Regions from separate parts of the Homo sapiens genome. Here region 2 is linked to region 1. The links are contacts of gene promoters, found by promoter capture Hi-C in blood cells and fetal thymus (Javierre and others, 2016). All regions are on one chromosome and are shown on one strand. The core of a region is centred on a gene start or on the middle of the fragment in contact, and the rest is flanking DNA. Distances in the headings are between cores, read along the strand shown.

The links. The method cuts DNA at HindIII sites, captures the fragments that hold promoters and counts their contacts. A CHiCAGO score of 5 or more calls a contact.
Region 2: a contact is called between a fragment that was not itself captured here and the fragment with the promoter of PRR20A in region 1, in 10 of 17 cell types (neutrophils, fetal thymus, erythroblasts and 7 more). The highest score is 10.9, in neutrophils.

The regions. Positions count from the first base shown.
Region 1 is chr13:57,138,327-57,142,169 of GRCh38, reverse strand. It overlaps PRR20A (proline rich 20A), which reads right to left and starts at 1,252. Exons shown (of 3, transcript NM_198441.2): 1 at 1,039-1,252; 2 at 814-884. The coding sequence starts at 865. The HindIII fragment of the contact is 41,430 bases long and covers 1-3,843 here.
Region 2 is chr13:57,182,159-57,186,019 of GRCh38, reverse strand. No RefSeq gene overlaps it. Among named protein-coding and RNA genes, the nearest start is that of PRR20E, 17 kb to the right of the region's middle. The HindIII fragment of the contact is 698 bases long and covers 1,635-2,332 here.

The DNA of each region.
Region 1 (3,843 bases), core at 3-2,502:
AAAGAAGGATGAAATATAAGAGAATTAGAGGTATGCTGTGGCTGAGACATTTCACCAGAAAATTTCAGAGTGCTGAGGAAAAAGAGAAGATTCTAACAGATTCTAGAGAGCGGGAGACAGAGAAAGGAAAAGTCACATGGAAAGGGCTAGGATTCCACATGTCTCAAAAGTCAGACATCTCAAAAGCAGCAGTTCAGTCTAGAACATAACAGAAAATGTCTTCGAAATTTCAAGGGAAATGAATTTCCCACCTAAAATTTCCTGTCCAACCGAAGTTTCGCTGAAGAATCTGGGAGGGGAGAATGAAGATGTTTCAGACAAGCAAGATGTTAAAGAATTTCCTTTCAGTGGATGCTTTATTGTTATGCATCTGTCAAACTAGACAAGATTAAAAGATTTAGGACACTCAGCGTATGAAGGGAAAAGTTTTGGAGAACAACGTGGCAACAGCCGGAAAATTCCAACTCCTCCGGGAAAGAACAAGGTGGAAGTACCGGTTTATCATAGATCAAGACGTAGCGTGAGGACTCGCTCTGCTACGGAGAAACAGTAATACAAAACTAAACAGAAGGAAACAGCGACAACAACAGCAAATCTCAGATTTGGGAAATGGGATTACGGTTCGGAAGAGGGAAAGGAATTTCCCAGATGATGTGGAACCCGGGAGCTGACTTCCAACAAGCAGCCCAGGTTGAGGCAGGCTAGGAGAAGGTGAAACAGAGAATGCTTGATTGAGTTTGAGTGTCAACCATTGGGGAAGAATTGGGGAACAGACGAAATTAAAAAGAGAGGAGTGGCAGGCGTTTGATGTACCTTGATTAGGGGCCATGGAGCGAAGTCGCTTCGAAGGCCTTGGTTCCTCCATGAGCAATCGGCGGGAGGGGCTGGGGAGAAAAACAAGAGAGCAAGAACGGATTTAGGAAGACAGAGGTGACAAGGCAGGGGGATGGCCGTGGCCTTTCTAGGGGAATGAGGATTCTGTCCCCAACTGCACCCACCCGAGATCCGTCCACGCCTCCGGGACCCCCAGACACACACCTGATCTTCCCACAGCTGGCTCCGGAGATCTGAAAATTAGGAGACTCTTCGACGAAGAGAGGCCCGAGGAGTCGGAGGTGTCCACAGGTTCACCGCTGTAGCTCTGAGGTAGTCCACCCGCAGCCAGGGAGTCTGGAGGGAGCACGCAGCAGGTTCTGGCTCCGAGCCCAGCAGAAAGCCGACTGCTGGAGGCCGAGCGCCGTCCCTCTTATATGGCAGCAAGGCAGTCGCGTAAGGGACAGGCGTCGTCAGAGGGGGGCCGGCTGGGGCGGGCCTGGCTGGGCTTGCGAGGCGCATTGGGCCAGTCCCCTGCCAGTCAAATGGGGGCCCTTCTGAGATGCCGCCATTTCTAGACGTCCGTGGTTGATTGATTAATCTAATCATCGAGGAAAAAAAATTGCATAATGACCTCTGAGTGTCAGCACAATGAGGTGTGGTGCCCTGAAAGCGGCTGACAGGAAGATGCGATTAGCTTAGATCTGAGCATGGTCAAGGAAAGCATCCAAAGCGGGGATATCTGGGCTGAAATCTGGAACATAACGTTTGAAATTAGTCATCCTGAACCGGGTTGGGAGAGGCAGGGAGGGAGGAAGGGGAGTGAAGAGAGTGTGCTGAGGCCCGGACTGGAAGGGAGCCCGGCACATTCTGGGAATGGACGGGAGGCCAAGTCCAGGCCCGGAGGTGGTGCGTGTGAGACGGGGCTGGAGATGCGTGTGAGACCCACACCGCTGGCTTTTATTGCTGTGGGTGCACTCACGGGTGGAGGAAGACAGCGGGAAACACAGCAGGACGCTGGAGGGGATCCCACAGTGGGTTATTTGGTTGGTTTGCATCCTTGTGTTTTTTACAGAGACTGGTTCTCGCTCTGTAGCCCAGGCTGGAGTGCAGCGGTGCCATCTCGGCTCGCTGCGGCTACTTGGGGGGGTTGGGGGGGGGTGGCTGAGATAGGAGAATCAGTTCAAGTGATTCTCCTGTCTCGGCCTCCGGAGTAGCTGGACTACAGGTGAGCGCCACCACATCGGGATAATTTTCGGATTTTTTTGGAGAGACGAGTTTTCGCTATGTGCCCAGGCTTGTTTGGAAGGCCTGAGCTCAAGCCGTCCGTCCCGCTCAACCTCCCGAGTCGCTGGGACCCCAGGCGCAAGCCACCATGCCGGGCCAATTACTTTTTTGGGTTGTATTTCCTGTTGAAGTGAGGTTTTGCTATGCTTTCACCTCACATACCTTTTCTGTCCCAAGACCCCATCCAGGGTACCACCTTACAACTCGTCACGGTTCCCCTTGGCTGCGACGGTTTCTCACACTTGCCTTGTTTTTGATGACTCTGACACTTTGAATACTGATCAGATATATTGTGGGATGTCCTCTCCTGAAGTTCGTGTGATGTATTCCTTGTGATCTGACTGGAATTATATGTTTTTGTCAGGAAGATTGCAGCGGGAAAGCGCCATTCCCATCCCATCCTGTCTAGAGTACACACCATCAAGCCGGCTTATCACTGCTGCTATTAGTCCTGGTCACCGGGCTGGGGCAGTGTTGATTAGGTTTCTCCACCATAAAGTGATTTTCCCACCTCTTTCTCTACTGTGCTTTCTGGAAGTCGCTACCTGTAGCCTATACGTAAAGAAAAGGGAAGTTTTGCTTTATCTCCTTGCAGGGGAATAGCTACCTAAGTTCTGTGGAGTTCTCCTGTGTGGAGGATTTTCCCATTCTCCCCCACATGTTTGTTTATTTAATCACTTATTTATATCCGTATGGACTTATGGACACCTATTGTATGCTTTGGTTTACACTCCAGTACTTCAGGGGATGAATTATTTAATAATTGAACTAATTATTTTGTCAAGTATTTTACTTAACTATTTAATTATTAATTATTTAGGTAATTACTTTGTTACTCAATGTTTCCAGCTTTGGCCACCGGGAGCTCCTTTAGTTGGCTTCCGTGTCCCTTTGTCAACCTCCCATCTCAGCAAACTAACACAGGAAAAGAAAACCAAATATCACATGTGCTCACTCATAAGTGGGCGTCGAACAATGTGAATACATAGACACAGGGAGGGGAATATCACACACTGGGGTCTGTGAGGGACTGGGAATCTAGGGGAGGGAGACTATTAGGAGAAATACCTAATGTAGATGATGGGTTAATGGGTGCAGCAAAACATCATGGCACCTTTATACCTATGTAACAAAGCTGCACGTTCTGCACATGTATCCCAGAACTTAAAGCATAATTTAAACAAAAATTAAAGAAAAAAATTCCCTCACCCCTGCTCCACCCATCCCACAATCCTTCAACTTTTGTATCAGTGGCGAGAAGTGTTCCTCATGCAACATTCAGTTTCCTGCTTGGAAGGAATCCTCTATCCTGTGAATATCCCTCCAGAGATAGCACGTTCTTAATTCAGGGGATGCAAGGGCACACACAGAGTTGGGAGGTGGAAGACATGATGGATAAGGTGGATGGGGTAGTGAAGATGGCATGGAAGACTATACGGTATTTCATATATACTTGATAAATCTATATATTTTGTGTCTGAATTAAGATCCCAAGAATTTTAACAAGTTCTTAATTTCATGCAGGTCAAAGAGAAAATGAGCAATAGTACCTAATGTTGAGACTTGTAAATTTTCTTTCTGTGTTTTTAGAAGTGTTAGACATGATTGTATTAATTGACTGACAACCCAATATCTAACCTGGCTCATCCTCACCTTTCTGCTTTCCTTCTTTCCTCCTTCTTCTTCTTCCTCTTTTTTTTTTTTTTTTTTTTTTTTGTTGTTGTTGTTGTTGGTGTCCTTCCA
Region 2 (3,861 bases), core at 734-3,233, 43 kb before region 1:
GAATAGAATAATAGGTAGTGTATTAAACAGTGAAGAGACAAATAGGAGGCATTAAAGGCAAGATATAATTGTAGATTAAATTAGAGAACTCACAATTGCAATGGAGAAACTTGGCTGAATTTGAGATACATTTTAATGTTAAATCAATATAACTTGGTAATTCACAGGTGCTTCATGAAGAGAGAAGAGCCAAAGGAGCCTGTACTTTATTTTCAACAATGGCTGGATGGTATCACCACATATTTATATTGGGAAGTTGAAATAAGAGAAAATTGATAAGAAAAATCATACATTGCATTTGTGATATATTTTGTCTCAGTTCCATTGATACATCCATGTGGAAAAATACCTAATATTTGATTGGAAACAGGACTAGAGCTCAGAAGAGTTTTGGACTCAATGTATATTATTAACCGGTGGTCAGAGTTTGTGTGTATTTTAACATATGGGAAAGATACCATAACTTACAGATGAGAGAGAGAGAGAGAGAGGAGAAAGAGAGAGAGAAAGAGAGAGCCTAAAGAGGGGACTGGCAAACTACAACTTGCTGGCCAAATCTGGGTGCTGTCTGCTTTTGTAAATGCAGTTTTATTGGAACACAGCCATGCCATTAACTTCTATAATATATACCGCTATTTTTATGTTATAAAGAGCAAATTGAGTAGTTTCATCAGAAACCATATGACCTGCAAACCCTAAAATATTTACTATCTGGACTGTTTAATTTTACTGAGCCTAAAATAAATACTTGAAGAATTTTGATACTGAATGTTTAGGTAGAGGAATATTAGACTAAAAGATAGGATAGAAGAGGAGAGGGAGAAAGAGAAAGACAAAAAGAGGAAGAGAGGGAGCAGCCTGCCTGACTTAAGACACACAGGACAGGCTTGCTGGGGAGGACACTGGCAATCCCCCATCACTCCTGGGTGTTGGGAATGTTGACTTTGTTCCAACCCAGCTTCCCGTCACGAAGGTCTGGCTGTCATATGGGGCCAGAAGGCGGTCCGGGGGAAACTGAGGGTAGCTGGCTGAGGCCACACCTCAAAGTTCTCCAAAGGCCCCTGGACTAACTTTAGTCCCTGATTGCCCATTAGGGTGTCAGTACTAGGACCTCCATCCAGTCTTTCCTATTGTTCTTCCTTTCTTATTTTCATGGCTATCATGGTTCCTATCTCTTCTTTATATACAATGTTAAATGTATATAATGTTATTGTAAACTACAGAAATATTACTGGGTAGAATGAGCATTTGGCTTAGTCATCAGGAGTGTAAATGAGAACAATGTGGTGTCTGTCTATTCTTAGAATCAAGGAGAATATAACAGTTGAGTTTTCTTTCCCCTGTTGGAGGAACCCACATGCATAGGGCAAGAGGCTTTTTTCCCTAGGCACCTTCCCCTCCCCTGCACTTAAGTTGTCCTTTTAGGAGGCACATTGTTGGGCTAGATCCCCAACTCCAGGGACTTCCTTCCTCTCCCTTGGTTGAGGAGGACCTGGTCCCACAGCTTTGCCTGCTTATGAAAGGGAAGCAACCGAAGGACTGCCCTGCTGGTTACTGGCTGCAATTTGGTGAGGGCCGCCTGGGACTAATTTAATCGGTTCATACACCCTCCTGAGACACCTTTTTCCCAAGCTTCAGTTTGAGGCCCTAGAAAGGAAAACTAGATCTGAGGGATACAAAGGCAAAAGACAGCATAAGTCTAGGGGCACAGCACAGGTGAGCATGACTAATTCCTGCCGATTAGGCTCTTCTGCTTCATGGAAGGAGGTCATGCTCACATTCATGGCTTAGATACGGTCTAGAGAACTTAAAGGTTATTGACAGTGGAAGGCTTAGGCACAGCTCAGGTGAGTGTGAATATTTCTGCCAGCTACGGCTTCCTGCTTCATGGGTCAAGGTCACATGTGCACCCATGGTTGCCACCTGCACAGGTCACCAGGACTCAGGAATATAAGGTTGGAAGAAAAACAGGGATGCCTTTTTTCTCTTCCTCATGTACCCCAGGTATTAGCTGGAAAGATAAAATAACAAAAGGATGCCTTTCTCCTTCTTTCCAGGTGGGTAACCAACCAACTTCAACCTGACTCCTCTCGAGTGCATCCTGAATCACTGGGACCCCTTTGACCCTCAGGCTAGAAAGAGAGAGGAAGAAAACTTTTTCATCCTCTGTCCTCTTTTCCAGATGTGTAACCAACACTCTTCAGCCTGCACCCCTCTAGAGTGTATCCTGAATCACTGTGACTACTTTGACTCTCAGACCCTGAAGAAAAAGTGCCTCATATTCCTTTGCACAATGGTGTGGCTGAATTATGTTATGCAGGAAGGAGAAGCTTAACCTCAGGAAGGAAGCATTTTTTTTTAATAATATTCTGTAGCTGGACCTTTTCTGGAAATGTGAGGGCAAGTGGCCTAAGGCCTCATTTGTGCAAGCCTTCTTTGTCTTGCAGGATAGTCCAGACCTTTGCCAATATTGTAGGATTGATTCAGCCTCCTAGCATCCACCTCAGGAAAGGCTGCAAGGGGCAATCTCGGGAACTAGGGAAACAAACCCCAGAGGTCCCTCCAGTTAAGGAATCAACTGCCTCTACACCTCTCTATCCAGGTGGTCTTCCAAGTTTACCTCATCCTAAAAAACATATTTTAGGCAGGTCCCAGTGTCACTCCTGCCCCTACAACAGATGCCTGGTGAATAGGGCCCCATTAAGGTCCAAGTCCCCTTTTCTCTACAGTTCTTAAGGAAAATTAAGGGGGATCTTGGCAAGTTTGCAGACGATCCTGAGAGGTGTATATAGAGGCTTTCCTGAATTTAACCCAGGTATTTGAACTCTCCTGGAATGATGTCATGTTGCTTGTGAATCAAACCCTGATTACTGCTGAAAGGCCACTCTAAAAACAGCAGATCATTTTGGGGATGACTTTTTGTATCTCATAAAGGGCCAAGGAAGGGGATGAAAGTTATGTGACTGGAAGAATAGCAATACCATTGGTGGGTCCTAAATGAGACCCCAATGATGAAATGGGAGAATGGAGGAAGAGACACCTTCAGGTATGCATACTGGAGGTCTTATGAAGGACTAGATTTAAGCCTTTCAATTATCCAAGCCATCCATGATAGGCCAGGGATTAGGTCAGAATCCCATTGTCTTCCTGGAAAGGCTAAGAAGGGCCTTGGTAAAGCCTACCTCTCTATCTGCTGATTCAGTCAAGGGACAGCTAATCCTAAAAGATAAGTTTATCACACAGACAGCCCCTGATATCAAGGGAAGCTACAGAAACAGGTTATAGAACAAAATAGTATGTTAGAGAATTTCCTGAAAGTAGCCACCTTGGTCTTTAATATAGGAACCAGGAGGAAGACCAAAAAAGAGAAAGAAGATACAAGGAAAAGGCAGAGGCTCTAATAACTTCCCTGCAGGCTCACAAACCTCAGAGTCTCTGAGACGCGTTTTTAGCTACTACAAATGTAGCAAGCCAGAGCACTTTATGAAGGACTGTCTGAACAGCAGGAGGAAGCTACTTTGACCCTGTCCAATTTGCAATGGGGGCCACTGGAGGGTGTACTGTACCCAGAAACGCAGGTCACTGGGTCTAGAGCCAGTCCCTCAAATGGTCCAGCAGGATTGATGGGTCATGGGGCTCCTCTCCCCAGCTCCAGTGGTCCAGACTACCATTAACATCCAGGAGCCCCAGGTGATTCTGGAACTCAAAGAGAGGAAGGTAGACCTCCTCCTGGACACAGGATCAGGCCATTCAGCTCTCCTCTCCAATCCAGGCTTTCCCTCCTCTCTTAGCATGACCATGAGGGGAGTCTTAGGAAAAACTTTAACCTGATATTTTCCCCAACCTCTTAGTTGTAGCTGG